2 separate regions of the Homo sapiens genome follow, and region 2 is linked to region 1. The links are contacts of gene promoters, found by promoter capture Hi-C in blood cells and fetal thymus (Javierre and others, 2016). All regions are on one chromosome and are shown on one strand. The core of a region is centred on a gene start or on the middle of the fragment in contact, and the rest is flanking DNA. Distances in the headings are between cores, read along the strand shown. Region 1 holds the start of IPPK (inositol-pentakisphosphate 2-kinase). Region 2 holds the start of TSTD2 (thiosulfate sulfurtransferase like domain containing 2).

The links. The method cuts DNA at HindIII sites, captures the fragments that hold promoters and counts their contacts. A CHiCAGO score of 5 or more calls a contact.
Region 2: the fragment with the promoter of TSTD2 here is called in contact with the fragment with the promoter of IPPK in region 1 in 2 of 17 cell types (total B cells and non-activated CD4 T cells); the score reaches 6.1 in total B cells.

The regions. Positions count from the first base shown.
Region 1 is chr9:92,668,211-92,672,421 of GRCh38, forward strand. It overlaps IPPK (inositol-pentakisphosphate 2-kinase), which reads right to left and starts at 1,921. Exons shown (of 13, transcript NM_022755.6): 1 at 1,698-1,921. The coding sequence starts at 1,778. It overlaps LOC107987095 (a long non-coding RNA gene), which reads left to right and starts at 2,152. Exons shown (of 2, transcript XR_001746837.2): 1 at 2,152-2,463. RefSeq lists enhancers at 1,023-1,192, 1,933-2,382, 2,393-2,442, 3,197-3,491, 3,749-3,918 and a silencer at 1,713-1,892. The HindIII fragment of the contact is 1,551 bases long and covers 546-2,096 here.
Region 2 is chr9:97,631,279-97,635,489 of GRCh38, forward strand. It overlaps TSTD2 (thiosulfate sulfurtransferase like domain containing 2), which reads right to left and starts at 2,090. Exons shown (of 10, transcript NM_139246.5): 1 at 1,965-2,090. It overlaps NCBP1 (nuclear cap binding protein subunit 1), which reads left to right and starts at 2,543. Exons shown (of 23, transcript NM_002486.5): 1 at 2,543-2,637. The coding sequence starts at 2,604. RefSeq lists enhancers at 2,011-2,340, 2,109-2,403, 2,568-3,403, 2,961-3,040. The HindIII fragment of the contact is 4,009 bases long and covers 999-4,211 here.

The DNA of each region.
Region 1 (4,211 bases), core at 671-3,170:
TGAGCCGAGATCGCGCCACTGCACTCCAGCCTGGGCAACAGAGTGAGACCCCGTTTCTAAATAAATAAATAAATAAAAATAAACAATCATTACAATCAGAGCTGTGCAACAGGGTAGGGCCAGGCTGCCCTGGAGATGCCTACTCAGGGAAGGGGGTGGACACATACTTGTCTGGAACGTGCAGAGAGATCCAAGTGCCAGAGGCAACTGCGTCAAAGCCTCTGCTCTTTCAACATGGGTGTCCTTTTGCTCCAAGCCTGAAACTTGCTGCTTCATCTGCCACTACTTTTGAAATTTAATGTATCAGCCCTCACTAAAGAAAAGTCTTAGGTTTACCTAAAATGCAGAGATACATCTAATCTTACCAAGGAATTGGAAGATTAGTATTTGTTTTGGGAAAGGATTCAGGGGATCAGCACAGTAACCCAACAACAAAAGGACTCACGCAGAAACATCCCTCACTTTGCCAATAGTGGACTACACAAGAGAAGGACAGCTTTAGGTTAGCCTGGTCCATTATTAATTCACCTAAAGATCTTGAGCAAAGCTTGTAGTCTCTGTTCTTTAGTTCCCTGTGCTAATGAGCAACAAAATCCAAAGGCACAACCTAGGGGCTACCTGGGTGTTTGCAGCTTACACTACAGCTGACCAATGCACCCAGCATAGGAACAACAGAAGCAAGGCAGGACTCCACTGCCTACATCATCCCTGACAAGCTGTTCGACTCGGGCAATGCCCTTAACCTCTCTGATTTTCACTTTATTTATCTGTCCAAGGGATGACAATTATCACTTGCTAAGCATAACTTGATGGGTTCCTGCGTAACTGGTCTTTGCAACAATCCCACAAAGTGAATTCTACTACTAGTTCCACTTCACAAATGTAGACACTGAGATTCCTGTGCCTTTAACACCCATGCTCTAACTCCTCCCTACATGACACCTATCCTCGCCTCCCTCACCCCCCTCCCCCGTTCCAGCCGGCCACATTCCTGCGTGGTTGTACCAGACAGCAAAAGGTCAGAGAGATCTGGGCCCTCACAGAAACCCACACGCTTCACTCTTGGGATTCACCTTTGCGAGATCTTACTGCAGTTTCTAAAACTTTCACCCTCGTTGAATTCAGGTGAAAGCCTTCAAATTCTAAAAGGTTGAGAAGAGGACCTGTGGACAACATCCCCTTACTATTAACAGCACAGCAATTCCGTAGTCTCACGAGGCTGAACTCTTTTGGTGCTGAGAGTAACAGCACTGTGGGCACTCTGCTTCTTCCTCCAGTGCTGGCCGGGCCCTCCGTCCCAACCAAGCCTCCACCCCACTGCGGCCTGGCAGTCCGGCGGGCATCCAGGCGGGAGGCGGCACCGCGTGAGGCTGAGCGCGGCACCGACGGGGCGGGGAGGGGGATGTGGAACTGACTCTGACGGGGAACGGGAATACTGAGGGGACGACAGACCGGCCAGGAGAAGGATCTGGGGCAATGGGAGACTGACCCAGTAGAGAGGGGATACTGGGGTGATGAGGAACCCAAGCGGTAGGGGGGGATGCTGGAGGGTGGGGGAATTCCGGAGACCGGCCGGGGAGGAGGAAGGTACTGGGGGGACGTGGAACCGACCCTGTTGAGGAAACGGATAATGGGGGCGGGGTGATACCGGCCGTCGGAGTGAGGTACCGGACCTGCGCCGCACGTCCACCGCTCACCTGCGCGTGGGCCACCACCAGGCTCTTATTGCCCTCTCCGTGGTACCCCCATTCATTCTCGTCCATCTTCCCCTCTTCCATGCCCAGGCGCAGCCCTGGCGCCTCGCGGGCTAGGACTCGGGGACGCGAGCTGGGGGCCGCCCGCCTCGCTGGGAACCAGCCGCTGCGGTCGGGGGAGGAGCGCCTGTCAGCTGCCGCCCCCGCTCGACCCCGCCGCGGCGACTAGCAAGCTGTGGCCGCCGGAAGCCACGCCCCCGGCGCCTGCCATGACGGAGTCGGGCAATTCCGGGTTCGTGACACTTTCCTCACACCGATCGCGACGGTGGATGGGCCGGCGGCCATCTTAGGTACTGGTAGAGCGACTCATTTCCGGAACGCGGTCTTGGGAGCCGGAAGAGAAGCTTCCGGCCTCGGCGCCGGATGTGTAGCTGGCGGAAGGAGCCGGCGGCTTTTCGGCGCCCGGTAGTGACCGGCAGTCCCCGGGTAGCCAGGGTGTCTGGGTGTTGGGACCGCTTAGTCGCGAGACCCCAGCAAACCTCTTGGCGTCTCTGAGCCTCAGCTTTTGCTTCTGTAGAATAGGGTGTACTCATCGTACATTTCATGGGAATACCTAACGCAGTCATTTGGATGGTCCTGTGAGGTAGAAAACATTGTCCAACGTTCTACGCGAGGAAATGTGGCTGGGCCACAGGACTGGACTCCCCAGTCCCGCTTTTGCCTGAAGACTTCGAGGGACGCAGTTGGAGCGCAAGGCTCCTGCTTGGCGGTGAGGCAGAGGGCTAACGACCTTCCTTCTCCTAAATTCACTGATGCGGCGGCAAGAATGGCACCGCCTCGTAGAGCTACCGCATTTCCCAAACTCGTAGTCTCAGGACCACTTTATACTCATAAAAATGAGGGCCCCAAGCTTTTGCTAATGTGGGTTACAGCTATCGATGTTACCACATTCTAAGTTAAAATGCTTTAAAGTTTTTTGTTGTTTCGTTTAAAAGTAAACAGCCGGGCGCGGTAGCTCACGCCTGTAATCCCAGCACTTTGGGAGGCTGAGGCGGGCGTATCACCTGAGGTCAGGAGTTTGAGACCAGCCTGGCCAACATGGTGAAACCCTGTCTCTACTAAAAATACAAAAATGAGCCAGGTATGGTGGCGCAGGCCTGTAATCCCAGCTACTCCGGAGGCTGAGGCAAGAGAATCATTTGAACCCAGGAGGCGGAGGTTGCGGTAAGCCAAGATCGCGCCATTGCACTCCAGCGTGGACGACAGAGTGAGACTCCATCTCAAAAAAAAAAAAAAAAAAAAAAGTAAACATTACATTCCACGCCCACCACCAAAATAAAGGAGTGGTATTGTTTTACACTTTTGCAAATCTTTTTAAAATCTGACCTAATAGGTTCTCACATGTGCTTCGGCATTCGGTCTGCTGCAATATATTGCATTGGTTGACATACACATTGTGAAGAACATCTGCAGTTATGTAGTTCACAAAGAGAGGACCTGCAGACCCAACTTTGAGAACGGCTGGGCACCTTGCCAGGCCTTGGGAATTGTAGTGAAATCAGGCCAGTGACTCAGGAAAATGAGCTGAAGGCTTTGAGCATCTCTTTCCTCCATTTTAGGCCTCAAAAGGGAGGCTGGGGCAGGGCATGGTGACTCATGCCTGTAATCCCAGCATTCTGGGAGGCCGAGGTGGGCGGATCGCTTGAGCTTAGGAATTCCAAACCAGCCTGGCAACATGGTGAAACCCTGTCTCTACAAAAAATTAGCAGGGTGTGGTATCTGTGCCTGTAGCCCCAGCTACTTGTAGGGCTGAGGGGCTGAGGCGGGAGGATCGCTTGTGCCCGGGAGGTTGAGGCTGCAGTGAGCCGTGATCAAGCCACTGCACTCTAGCCTGGGTGACAAAGCAAGATTCTGTCTCAAAAAAAAAAAGTGGGGGAGGCTGGGTGTGGTGGCTCACGCCTGTAATCCCAGCACTTTGGGAGGCCAAGGCGGTGGATCATGAGGTCAGGAGTTTGAGACCAGCCTGGCCAATATGGTGAAACCCCATCTCTACTAAAAATACAAAAATTAGCTGGGTGTGTGGTGCACGCCTGCAATCCCAGCTACTCGGGAGGCTGAGGCAGGAGAATTACTTGAACCCGGGAGGTAGAGGTTGCAGTGAGCCCAGATCGTGCCACTGCATTCCAGCCTGGGCAACAGAGCAAGACTCCGTCTGAAAGAGAAAAAAGGAGGCGGTGGGGGGGGGGTGGTGGGGAAGCTGGGTGGGAGGTGGCTCAGGACCCTCCACAGGGATGGTTGAGAAATGGGGGCAGAAACAGCCACTCCTGGAGGTAAGTAGCTCCCAACAGAGAGAGAGGACCTTAGGGCTCACAAAATTCAGTCCTTCCCACGCCCCCACAAGGCCAGGGAAGCTTAAACATGACTGCAGTTGAGTTCCTCAGCACCCTGCAAAAAGGAGAGTTGGGGTGAGATTAAATAATATATTAAGCATTAAAATATTTCCTTGAAACCTCTAAG
Region 2 (4,211 bases), core at 840-3,339, 5.0 Mb after region 1:
GCTAATTTTTGTATTTTTTTTTTTAGTAGAGACAGGGTTTCACCATGTTGGCCAGGATGGTCTCAATCTCCAGACCTTGTGATCCACCCACCTCGGACTCCCAAAGTGCTAGGATTACAGGGGTGAGCCACCATGCCTGGCCAGCTTTGCTTTTGAAGTACAATCCAATCAGATCACTTTGCACCACCATCTTTACTACCACCCTAGTTCAAGCTACTATCATTTGCAGCTAGAATTACTGCAAAAGCTGAACTATCTTCCTCCTTTGGGAGCATGAGAAGTAACTATTAAAAAAATAAGTCAGACTGGCCCTGCACAGAGGCTCATGCCTGTAATCTCAGCACTTTGGGAGGCCAGGAGTTCAAGACCAGCCTGGCCAACATGGCGAAACCCCATCTCTACTAAAAATATACAAATTAGCCTGGTGTGGTGGCGCATGTCTGTAATTGCCGCTACTTGGGTGGCTAAGGCACAAGAATTGCCTGAACCTAAAAGGCAGAGGTTACAACGAGCCAAGACCGTGCCACTGCACTCCAGCCTGGGCAACAGAGCGAGACCCTGTCTCAAAAAAAAAAAATCATACTCCAATGACTTCTCAATTCACTTGGATAATGTCCAAAGTCCTCACAGAGCACCTTCCCCCTACCTCTCTGATCTCATCTACCACTCTCCCGTTGCTCACTACCTATGATGGCACTATTTGTGGGTATTCCTGAATGGGTCGTTAGAATATATCAGCGCCAAGAGAGCAGGGGTTTTCCTTTGTTCACCTCTACATCCTCAGCATTCAGAACTCTGCCTGGCACCTAGGAGGTGCTAAATGCTAATAAATATAATATTCGTTGAATGAAATAAAACAGTGATTGGGTAACCAAAGAAGGCCTCACTAAGGACCTGACATTTGAGCTGAGACCTAAGTGACCAAGAGCCAGCCACGCAGATTTAGAACCAGAGACCTTCAGGTAAAGGAAATAGTATAAGTTCCTAAAATAAGAACAAGCTTGACTTATTGTAAGAACAGAAAGAGTGGTTGGAGTACAGTGAGGAGAAGTAGAACCCCACAGGCCATGGCATGGAGTGTGCAATGGAAAGTCGTAGGAGACTTTTTTTTTTTGACACGGTCTCACTTTGTTGCCCAGGCTGGAGTGCAGTGTGCGATCACCGCTCACTGCATTCTCGACCTCCTGGGCTCAAGGGATCCTCCCACCTCGGCCCCCAACCCTCCCCTCGAGTAACTGGGACTACAGGCGCCAAACACTAGGCTCAGCTAATTTTTTTTTTTTTCCTGTAAAGACGGTGTTCGCCTTGTTGCCCAGGTGGGTCTTGAACTCCTAGGCTCAAGCGGATCCGCCCGCGTCGGCCTCCCATAAGTGTTAGGATTACAAGCGTTAGCTACCCCGCCCGGCCGTCATAGGAGACTTTTAAACAAAGCAGTAACACGATCTGATTCTGGATTTGTGTTGAAAGCAGAGCAGGCAGGGTTTACAGATAATTGTTATGTAAAAAGAGGGAAAAGAGCTAAGAAAGACTCTAAATTTTTGGATTAAGCGGCCGACGGATGACGTCATTTACTGAAATGGGTAAGACCGAAGGAGAATTAGGCCGGGAGAGTGAAATTTCAGATGGCCATGGACAAAGCAGATAAGCCAGTATGGTGCTCATAAAGACATCAGGGGAGGGGACGCTCACACACAGGCATATAGGTACCCAATAACCCTTGAAAACAGATTACTAAAACAATCATTTGTTCCTTCCTAAGCAAACAACTTAAGGAAAATGACGGCCAGCCGGCAAGCCCGGAGCCGCACGCTCGCGTCAGGGCCGGCCTTTCCATACCAAGGGGCGGCACGTGCGGCACCGCCTCCCGCCCAGGCCCCACCCCGCATGCCGAGCTTGGCCCAACCTCTCCTCCCACTTTTCCCAAGGCGGCAAAAGCCGGAAAGTGGGAGTAGATGAGCACATACCCGCCAGTCCTGATCCTTTCTAAGGTCTCTCTTCCCTGCACTGTCTCCGCCTAGCAATTGTCACTGCTCACCGCCCTCGAGCCTATTCCCCCGCCGCGTATTTGGGTAGAAAAGCTCGCTCGTGACGTCACCAAGCTCCGGAAGTCTCCTGGCGTCGGCGCAAGGGCCGCCGGGAAAACCATTGAGAGGCCACCGGGAAACCATTGAGAAGCCCCGGAGGACCGGCCTGAGCGGAGGCGGAGACTAGAGCGGCCGCCGGCACGACCCGCCTTCAGGCGTACGACGACCGCGGCCCGGGGGCTCTGAGTGGCCAAAGCGGCGGCACTTTCTGCGTGGCCCCGGAAGGACATAGAGCGGAAGGCGGGAGAAAGAAGTAGCCGGCAGGCGGAGGCAGCCCGAGGGGGCGGTTGCATGTGTGCCAGACGTTCGTAGCCCACTGAGCTTCCTCACGCCGGCTGTCGCAGCGCCTAGCCCCACCCGGCGGCCTCTCCTGCGCTTCCGGGGCCGTGGCGAGCTAGTGCGCCTGCGTGCCGGCCCATCCGCGCGCCTTGCAGCTGTCCTTGCGTCGGCCAGCGGCCAGACAGTTCCTGCAGCGCTTACCGCCTGGCCTCTCGGTTCCGCGGCGCACCGGAGGGCAGCATGTCGCGGCGGCGGCACAGCGACGAGAACGACGGTGAGTGCCTGCGGCCCGGCCACGGAGGCCGCTCCCGGTTGGGAGCCGAGGCTCGGCGTCTTTGGGTGTCCACGGAAGAGACTGGAAGCTCTTCTCCCCGGGAACGTGCGGGGAGCCGCGGAGGGAAAGAGGAGAATATGGTGGCGGTGTGGTCGGGCGGCTTCTAGAAAGCGACTTCTCCCCCGCCCCAGTTCTTTGAGTCAAGGGCCGATCCTCGGGAAAGAAGGCCTGGTGAACCCCATGGGTAGACCCTTGGTCTCTAAGGATGCTTCAGAATTTCGTCCGTAAAACCACGGAGCAGGGAAGCACACCTGTGTCTGTGCTGCCGCCTCTTAGGGACCCACTGGTCCTAGTGTCTCGTTTTAACCTTCAAAGCTGCACCTGAAAAGGGCTCGGAAGAATTCACTGAAGGAAAGGACTGAGAGATCTCATGAGTTGCAGTCTGAACTCTGTTCCGGTAGTGGTTATCCGTTGATTTCACTTCTTTCAAGCTGCAGGGAAAGAATATTGTCTTACCTGCGCCCAAGAGGTCCCTAATAAACAGACACAGGTTACTGCAGATTTTGAACTGGCCGTAAGCGCATTTCCCTTGTGTGAGAGAGAGTGCTAGAAAACTAACTTCAGGCCTCTGAGAGAGTTAGAACAGGGGTTCCCATCTCCGTTTGGATGATTGTGCTCGTGGAGATCAGTGTTGCCTTCATAAAGATGGAATAATTCTAGTTTTAACAACAACAAAAAAAAGATGCTTATATTACACATAAGCCTTACAATCGGTCAAAAACACAAATCCACACACCAAAAAAGTAAAACTTAGAGTAATTCTATTGTTAACATTTTAGTGTATTGTTTTTTGAAGAGAGTGTATAGTAGTGGTTAAGAGATGAGACTTTGGAACCAGAGGGTTTAGGTTCAAAGCCAGACCCTACCATTTACTTGGTGATCTTGTCCAGGTTATGAAATCTCCTTAAACTTTAGTCTGTAATACAGAAGTAATGATATTTATATCTTCTGGTTTTTGTGAAGGTTAAATGAGGTAATACACATCAGCAACAATGATGTTTTATCATTTGCCAACGCTTAAGAGGCGGTAAACGTTAGCAGATGCTGTCAATGTAAGAAAAAAACCCATAACAGACATTTTAAATTGAGTAAATTTTATCTACTAACGTTTGTCTCTCCTTGAGTGTTGTGGCAGTTGAGGTGGAGGCAGAATCGCATGCATTTAGTTTTAATAGTGAAACACCAGATTTCTACGAAGGAATGGCTTGAGAGGATATTCTAGTCCAGCTTTCTATCTGACACCTAAGGGTCTAGAGACTGAGCATAACTAAGATGGAGGGACAGCTGTCAGTTCCCAAACACCAGCAAGAGCGAATCCAGTCCGGGGCTCTCTTCACTACACAGGTATAAATTAAATAACTATGCTGCGTGCTTTGATTTCTAACACGAGGTTTCTTGTGTAACCTCTGTACAAGGCACAGAAAATACAATTCCCTCCCTTTTTTTTTTTTTTCTGAGACGGAGTGTCATTCTTTGTCAGGCTGGAGTGCAGTGGCGCGATCTCGGCTTACTGC